Regions from separate parts of the Homo sapiens genome. Here all the other regions are linked to region 3. The links are contacts of gene promoters, found by promoter capture Hi-C in blood cells and fetal thymus (Javierre and others, 2016). All regions are on one chromosome and are shown on one strand. The core of a region is centred on a gene start or on the middle of the fragment in contact, and the rest is flanking DNA. Distances in the headings are between cores, read along the strand shown.

What was found. The method cuts DNA at HindIII sites, captures the fragments that hold promoters and counts their contacts. A CHiCAGO score of 5 or more calls a contact.
Region 1: a contact is called between a fragment that was not itself captured here and the fragment with the promoter of PGRMC2 in region 3, in 17 of 17 cell types (total B cells, fetal thymus, naive B cells and 14 more). The highest score is 14.0, in total B cells.
Region 2: a contact is called between the fragment with the promoter of JADE1 here and the fragment with the promoter of PGRMC2 in region 3, in 17 of 17 cell types (naive CD4 T cells, fetal thymus, M1 macrophages and 14 more). The highest score is 25.4, in naive CD4 T cells.

What each region holds. Positions count from the first base shown.
Region 1 is chr4:128,827,936-128,830,635 of GRCh38, reverse strand. The region is part of intron 1 of JADE1 (jade family PHD finger 1); the gene reads right to left. Among named protein-coding and RNA genes, the nearest start is that of JADE1, 20 kb to the right of the region's middle. The HindIII fragment of the contact is 3,004 bases long and covers 1-2,700 here.
Region 2 is chr4:128,808,193-128,811,234 of GRCh38, reverse strand. It overlaps JADE1 (jade family PHD finger 1), which reads right to left and starts at 1,535. Exons shown (of 11, transcript NM_199320.4): 1 at 1,358-1,535. RefSeq lists silencers at 603-722, 1,233-1,712 and an enhancer at 1,023-1,132. The HindIII fragment of the contact is 6,052 bases long and covers 1-2,319 here.
Region 3 is chr4:128,286,216-128,289,224 of GRCh38, reverse strand. It overlaps PGRMC2 (progesterone receptor membrane component 2), which reads left to right and starts at 1,412. Exons shown (of 3, transcript NM_006320.6): 1 at 1,412-1,852. The coding sequence starts at 1,435. RefSeq lists silencers at 117-411, 783-972, 1,293-1,472, 1,483-1,532, 1,713-1,772. The HindIII fragment of the contact is 4,970 bases long and covers 1-2,956 here.

The sequences.
Region 1 (2,700 bases), core at 141-2,640, 540 kb before region 3:
CCATCACCTACCTACCCATCCACCCTCTCAGAAAAGTACATCCCAACCTCCTCCTCATTGGGAATCACAATATGTATGATGTGGTGTTAACAATGCAAATGTGGCTGGGCATGGTGGCTCACCCCTGTAATCCCAGCACTTTGGGAAGCAAAGACGGGAGGATCACTTGAGGTCAGGAGTTGGAGACCAGCCTGGCCAACATGGTGAAACTCCGTCTCTACTAAAAATATAAAAATTAGCCGGGCGTGGTGGCAGGTGTCTGTAATCCCAGCTACTTAGGAGGCTGAGGCAGGAGAATCGCTTGAACTCAGGAGGCGGAGGTTGCAGTGAGCCGAGATCACACCACTGCACTCCAGCCTGGGCGACAGAGACCCTGTCTCAACATACACACACACACATACACACAACAATAGAAGTGGGGCACATAGGAATGGTGTGGAGAAAAAAATGTGGAAAACCGGGCTGGGTGTGGTGGCTCATACCTGTAATCCCTGCACTTTGGGAGGCCGAGGTGGGAGGATCACGAGGTCAGCAGTTCGAGACCAGCCTGACCAACACGGTGAAACCCTGCCTCTACTAAAAATACAAAAATTAGCCGTGCGTGGTGGCGCGCATCTGTAATCCCAGCTACTCAGGAGGCTCAAGCAGGAGAATCACTTAAACCCGGGAGGCGGAGGTTGGAATGAGTGGAGATCACACCACTGCACTCCAGCCTATGTGACACAGTGAGATTCTGTCTTGAAAAAAAAAGAAAAATGTGGAGAACCACTGTGATAGAACAAGAAAGCAATTTTAAAAAACCAAAGCTCCACTCTAAAAAGGCCTACAAAAGAGCAGTCAAAAAAGCCTAAACTCCCTTTTCCTTTGACTAGTCACTTCACAATTTATCACCCTCTGTTAAAATTGTATATAAGCCTTCAGGTCTAACTCTTCTTGGGTTTTTTCTCTTCGGTGAAGTCTCCTTCCCTTTACCCACATCTGGCACATAAAAATATCAACATCAGTGAAGTTTGCCTTTTCTCCTGTAATGTCTTTTGTCATTTAATTCAGACTCGCATGAACTGAACCTAAAAAAGTAGATGAAAAGTTTTTCCTATACTACACTTAAAAAATGGATCTACACAATTCATCCAAATATTTAGGTCCCTAATCTATAATTGCAATATTTTATATTTTCTTCCTGAGAAACTCACCCAGTTAAAGTTTTTGTTTATCAATTGATTCTTCAAAAGCCATTAAAATGATGTACCAAGAGAAAGGCTGAACATAAGTCCTGATCAGTATGGGTCATGAGCTATATTATGGACACGCTTTACAAGCTGGGGTTTCATGCTGTAGGCATAGTCAAGTCCTAAAACCCACTCCATCCCTTTTCCAAAAGCCCCACTCACCCATAACCAGGCAATCTGCAACTTGGCCTGGGGTAAGCCCACTCCAGCCCTCAGGTTCCATAACCAAGAAACACCAGTGGTCCACTCCCTATTCAACTGTTTTCTCTGCCCTGTGTGTGCCAAAAACACCAACTGCAGACAGGTAAGCTCTCCAACCTTCTAGAGAATGCACCTCTGGGTCCCCTCAGGATCCAGCAAGAGGTAAAAGGGAAAAGGGAAAGGCAGAAGACCACTCACTCCTAACAGCTTCAGCTCCCCAAAGCCAACATTACAAAAGAGTGCTAAAAAAAATTAGTACTAGGCTGGTCGCGGTGGCTCACATGTGTAATCCTAGAACTTTGGGACGCCAGGGCAGGAGGACTGCTTGAACCTAGGAGTTGAGACCGGAGTGGGCAACACAGGGAGACCCCTATCTCTATAAAAAAATTTAAAAATTAGATTCACCTAACAGAGTAGCTTTTAAGAATCTTTTTGAATCAAAATGCTTACTTTCCAGCTTTCAAACACAACTCCCTGAGGAAGCACTTCAACAGTCACTAAATAAAGAACGCAAGCATTGGCCAAAATACAATGATGCACCTAAACACACATAAATACTCTCTTAAGCAAAATTATTCAAGTAAAAGAAGAGTAAAAATAGTATTTTCTTTCTAATGAAATCCATTTTCATCCGCTGAAGATCTTGAGTAATGAGGGTTTGAGAGTGCTGTATTTGCTTCTCCAGGGAACTTGGCACAGTATGGGGGTTAGTGCTCAGCAGAATTTCCTCCTCTGTGGCTCTAAAGTACTTAAACCTTGACATCAAGCTGATTTATCTCACCCAGGATGACTTACTGTATCAGAAAATCAAAATACATGTTACTATCTTTCAGCTACACAATACAGTGGTTGTATGCTGCAAACATCTGCCCCACTAAAAGCCAGCATCTGCATCATCACCTTTCCTGACTCTCAGGGCAATGGCTAATTACTAATCTAGACAGTAGTAGGATAAGTAATAATCAATTAAAATGGCTACTCACAACACCCCAAAGTAGCAAGAAGATATAATGGCACATAATGCAGCCGACAAACATTTGAATATCTCATATATTAGGAGGTGCTGGATGAAAATTACTAACCCTGACCTCACAGAGCTTCTGGCCTAGTTGGGCAGACAGGAAAACAACGGAAATTCACTACTGTTTGTGCCTGACAGTGGTAAATGCGGAGTTCTACAGGAATACAAAAGGTGGATAAGAGTCAGAGGAGGCTGGTAAGACTGAGCTGAGTCCTGAAGAACAAAGAGGAGGTAGCCAGAAAAAGGGGC
Region 2 (3,042 bases), core at 286-2,785, 520 kb before region 3:
GGAAGGAGGTGGAAGGGATCGAATTTCTCCAGCAAATGGGACCGTTCCGACAGGATTCGGTTCCCCGGTCAACATTCCACATTCCATCCCTCTCCCGCATTTGCAAGCCAATGCCGAGCAACCCGGAAAGCCTGCTGGCTACCGAACAACAGCCCCCAACTCGCAAACACAGACTCACAGGCACAAGACACGTGCACTGAAGGGCTCTGCAACTTGCAGTCCCGGGGTACACACTACACGTTCATTTAAGGAAGCAAGGAGACCAAGAGACCCCACCCCCACAATTTGCAGATGGTGCCAAAGGTTGCAATTTGCAATCCCCTTTAAGTTCACGATTAATCGGTACTTTGCTCTACCAACGCCAACTCCTACCCCATTTCATCGATTAAGGGGTTTTACACTTTACAAGCAGTCGCGCTGTAAGTAAAAGATCTGATCACTGGAAGCCCAGTTCGGAAGAATCTAATTGCCAAACTGTCCCTCCACCCCCACCCCCACCCCCCTCTCACTGCCCTTGAATTGATGCAATGAATATTTTGGACATGTGGTGACGCGGTGACAAGAGCCAGGGCTGCGGCCACCACACACAGATGTACCTACGCACACCTATGTTTGGACAAATACAGTCCCACCACACACACGGTCTCACACACTCTGGATTCATATATGTACGCGAACCTGCGTTCTGCCATTGCCATCTGTCTACCAAGTTGCTACTATGCTTTCCACTTTCATGCAGCCTAATGCACTTTGGCTTTCTAAAAAAAAAAAAAAAAAAAAAAAACCTATAAACTAAAGCCAACTTAAACTGGGCTTCTGCTCCTAAACGCGTTTAATTGATGATTCACCTGAAAACCGCATGTTCTTCGCAAATCCAAAAGAAGAAATAGCTCTAAGTCTTCAGCCCCCCAAATTTGAAAAAAAAAATCATAATAAAACTTACTGATCCAACATAGATCAATTCTCAGGATCCAAAAATCATCCTCTCCTCCTCCTCCGGCCCCCGCCCCGGCAATGCCCAAGTTACTGGTGGGATAGTAACGCTGCGCTCAGCGGCTGCCTCCCTCCCTCCTCGCTACAGATCGAGAACCCAATCTTTTGGCGCCATATTAATGACGTATTATATTATTTCCACTAGGCAGCGACCTTCGGCATTAAATTACTCCCGAGAACTCCCGAGCAAAGCAACAAAACCATCAAATATGGCTGAGCCTCTCGGCTCGTCCTGCAGCCGCCGCCGCCGCCGCCGCCGTCGCCGCCGCGGGACCGGGACGCGCACACGGACCCACACGCGGACACGCGCGGACACACGCGCGGCGCGCCCACCCCGCGCGCCCCCCGCGGCCCGCGCGCGTACCTGCTGCGGAGGGGTTCGGCCGAGGCGCTGGGCTGGGCGCCGCTCGCTCGCTCGGAGCTGCATGAGTTCGGGCCGCGGCGGGCGGGGAGCCGGGCGGGCCCCTGCTCTCGCCGGCGCGCACACACCGGGCACTCGCGCACGGAGGCACTCTCGGTCTGGCGTTTGGCTTGTTATGGAGGAAGGACTATGTGAATCAAACTCATTTCTGGGTCACTGCTGCCACAGGGGGGAGCACTTTAATCCCTTGCCAAAACGAGAGGGTGGGGACGGGAGGGCGGAGGGAGCATGCGGGGAGCCCGCGGCGCTGGGGCTCGGTCCCTCGTTAACTCTTCGCAGCCCTAGCCGCAGCCGGCTCAGCCTGCGCCAGTGGGGGCTCGCAAAGAACGGCACTGTTCAGCTCTTAGTCTCTTTCCTTACTTCACCCACCTTGTGAGCCTAGAAATTCTTGAGGTGTCTCCAAGCAAGTGGGTTTTTAAATTAGCCCCTTCAAACTGCTGTCCCAGTTTCAACTCTTGTCTGACATCTAGAAATGGATTCTTTCAGAATAGTTTAAAATTACGTAGATTAAAATATGGCTATTAAGATGTGTCATTTGGGTGAAAGGTTTTATTTTTAGGCTGAGTGGCAAAATAGTTGTTTGTAGTAACAGTTTTAGGGAGTTGCACATTAGGATGACATTTTTAAATAGAGAGAATCCAATTCTGAATAACATCTTTACCTAAATTTGTATGGAAGTGATCATTGCAAATGAGCATTAATTCATTAGAAGATATTATTTATAAATTGACACCACTTTATGTTACACATTACTACAGAATTGGACATCTTCTCCCAAATATGAGGAGTGAGCCTAATGCTAAAACTAGAATTGCAGACTAGTATCAGATCAGTCATCGGAGATTCATTTGGGGGTATTTATGTGTAAAAAGGAGTGGTTACTGATTTTCTGCAGAAGACAAGCTTGCTTTTTCATATAGAGGGCAACATACTTCTTTCATGGATTCATCTAGGGAAATAGAGGGGTATATGACATTCAACTTCAATAAGAAAAAAGTACGGATTAAAAACTCCCATTCAGGCCGGGCGCGGTGGCTCACGCCTGTAATCCCAGCACTTTGGGAGGCCTAGGTGGGCGGATCACCTGAGGTCGGGAGTTCAAGACCAGCCTGACCAACATGGATAAACCCTGTCTCTACTAAAAAATACAAAATTAGCCGGGCATGGTGGTACATGCCTGTAACCCCAGCTACTGGGGAGGCTGAGGCAGGAGAATCGCTTGAACCCGGGAGGTGGAGGTTGTGATGAGCCGATAATGCGCCATTGTGGTCCAGCCTGGGCAATAAGAGCGAAACTCCGTCTCAAATAAATAAATAAATAAATAGGAACAGTGATCACTAATTACAAAATTGAATATCGAACCCAAAAGGCATATGTGTCCACCGGAAGAATCTTTCTGAATATATCAGGTTTGATTTCATGTAATCCCACACCAGCCCAACTACCCACATCCAGACCCACATCCAGAACGTTATAATCTGATAAATGCGACAAAACAAAACTAATTGAGCCTTTCAGTTATTTTTCAGAAAACAAAGTAAGCCAGTGGAAATCCTAAGTACTGTATATGTCCTCTCCTGTTTCGCTAATGAAGAGTAGAAAGACTCCCTGCCAGTCCTATTCATGTG
Region 3 (3,009 bases), core at 163-2,662:
GGCTGCTTTCTCGTTACAAGGTAGAGCTGAGTAGTTAAGGCAGAGACTTAAAATATGATCGGGCCCTTTACAAAAAATGTTTGCCAACCCCTGCTCTAATGTCTCCCCTAGCTCTGAGTCTCCTCACCTCACGCACAAATACCCTAGCCTACTAACTGCTTTCCCACTCTTTCCCCAGCCTCTAATCCTTCAGACACCTGGTTGCTATACAGCCTCTCTACAAGAGTGTCGACCCTGTCACTTGCCTCGTCAATATCCTCAGTGACTCCTACAAAACCGACAGTGAAAGGTTCAAACCTATTCTATGAGACTCAAGACAACAGACAACAAAGGGCAAGAGAGAACACGTCAAACGAGTTCGTCAAACGAGTTGAGTGCGTGAGACTTCAGAGGTCACTTTTTCACACTAGAATTTCAAGGTGTGAGAGGCTAAAAGACGTCCAAGTACATGAAACAGAACCTGCAAATAAGAGTGAATGACGAATAGAAAGACCACCTCAACCTGTCCACTTCCCTACGGCCGCAGAAGTTATGATTCAAGGAATAATGAGACTCTAAATCCTTTAAAATTCTACAAGAGCAGCCTTTGCCAAACCCAGCGGGGAGTGGCTGCTCGGTGCCAGCGCGAGGAGCACGTAGACTGCCGATGCCAGAGAAGCCCGGTGCGGGTTCCGTGCTTTCTCTCCGTTCCAGGAAGACCCCAGCTCGTGGCCAAATCTTCTTGCCGCTTCCCGGTCTGCGCGCCTACGCTGCCGGTTTCCCGACAAAAGCGACGGCGCCCTGGTGAAAAGCAGACGCCCCTCATCGGTTTGCGCCTTGCAGCTCAACTATGCCCCAGCCTCCCACAAGCCACCTGCCCGCGTCCTCCGCCAGGCGTCCAGCCCGGACCTGCCCCCGCGGCCGCCAAGGCGCACGTGAAGCTCCCGGGCGGGGGGAGCGCAAGGAGGCGGGAGTTTGCGGACGCGAACGCAGGCCTAGGAAGGGAAGCGATTCCAGGGCGCACGCGCAGAGCCTGGAGACTGGGCGGGGCGTGCCTCCCGCAGGGGTTACGAACGAAAGGCGAGCGCGTGGCGCTCAGGAGCCCGCGCACGCGCTGTGGTCTCGCCCCGCCCATGAGCGTCCGCGCGGCCGTCGTAGCATCTTTTCTTCAGACCCGCCCGGCTCGTCTACTTAACCTAGCGGAGGCTTGGAGTGAGAGCAGGGAAGTGTGGGGCGAGGTGGGCGGGGCGTTGCACGCGTGCGCGGCCAGCGAAAGAAGGGAGGGGGCGGGAGATCCGAGACAACGTTACCCCGTCAACACCCAATCAGGAGCCGGCCTGACCCCGCCCCCTCTTCTCACGTTATTGGCTGAGAGGCCCCCAGATGGGCGGGGCCGGCCGTGGGGTTGGGGAGGGCAGGGGGCGGGGAGGAGGAGGAAGGCGCTGGCGGGCAGTGATGGCGGCTGGTGATGGGGACGTGAAGCTAGGCACCCTGGGGAGTGGCAGCGAGAGCAGCAACGACGGCGGCAGCGAGAGTCCAGGCGACGCGGGAGCGGCAGCGGAAGGGGGAGGCTGGGCGGCGGCGGCGTTGGCGCTTCTGACGGGGGGCGGGGAAATGCTGCTGAACGTGGCGCTGGTGGCTCTGGTGCTGCTGGGGGCCTACCGGCTGTGGGTGCGCTGGGGGCGGCGGGGTCTGGGGGCCGGGGCCGGGGCGGGCGAGGAGAGCCCCGCCACCTCTCTGCCTCGCATGAAGAAGCGGGACTTCAGCTTGGAGCAGCTGCGCCAGTACGACGGCTCCCGCAACCCGCGCATCCTGCTCGCGGTCAATGGGAAAGTCTTCGACGTGACCAAAGGCAGCAAGTTCTACGGCCCGGGTGAGGAGTTGGAAGGGGAGGGGAAGGACCCCCTGCAGCTGAAGCACAACCCCCTTCGGACAGGGAGGCCTCTGGGCACCGGGTTAGTTTGCCCAGCCTTCTCGTCTCCGGGACCCCCGCGCCTCGGCCGCCGCACCTGGGACGGCCCATCCCGCCCCTACACACACACCGTCCCCCCGCAGCTACGGGCACCTCCAGTTCTTCCCCCGAAACCAGGGTCCCCGGTGGCGCCCCAGAGACCAGCTCTCAGCATTCATCTTTCTTCCATCCCATTTCTCCTCGCAGCCTTTTTTTTTTGTTTCTTTGGCTGGATTTTTCAAAATCGTTTTAGTTGTCACAGGTCAACGCTGGCCCTTAACCTTTTTTGAGTCTCCTGATTCCTGGGATGGATGGGGCACCAGGGAAGGGAGATTTCTGAAGTTGGGACCTAAACTAAAGTTTTGGGCTCTGTAATTCACCGTTTTCTTTTCCTTGCCCCCTTTTTTTTTTTTTTTGCCACTGATCTCCTTTTTTCCCTCGCTGTATTACTCCGTAAGGCCACGTTTAGGGGCATGTAAAGTCCCAACCCTCCAGTCTCTGAAGTCCAGACGTATAAGCAACACCTCGGACTCTCTTTAAACCAGTTTTAGTTCGGAGTTGCTTTCCATGATTAACAAGGTATGTGGGATGAGAACAGACCAGAATGCAGAGCTTATTAAAGACTGGTAAGGATATTCACCTTGAGTTTTGGGGGTGGAGCTCCTATACCCAGCAGGCGTGTCTCTGGTTTCTTTTTTCTTTTTTTTTCTCTTTTCAAGTACACGTTGATAATGACTTGTGTTTTCACTTAGCAGAACTAAGGAGAAAAAACTTAGAAGAGTTGTAGATTTATACCCCCATGTGCCAGTTATGCAAGTTAAAGATTTTTAGAACTTTGTTTTGAGAGAACTTTGTTTTCAGGGAACTTTGTGTAGGGTAGTTGATTTAGACGCCCTTTTTTTACAGTGTGGTTGTAGCATACATTTTGGATTATGTTAATAAACCCCAGACTCATGGAACCTGTTGGTATATCATACAGTTGAGCAACATTGTGCATCCTGGTTGTGCACTGATTAATACTAAGCTTTAAAAAAAAGTGGTGACTACAATAAGAATAAATAATTAAATTAGAGACCTAA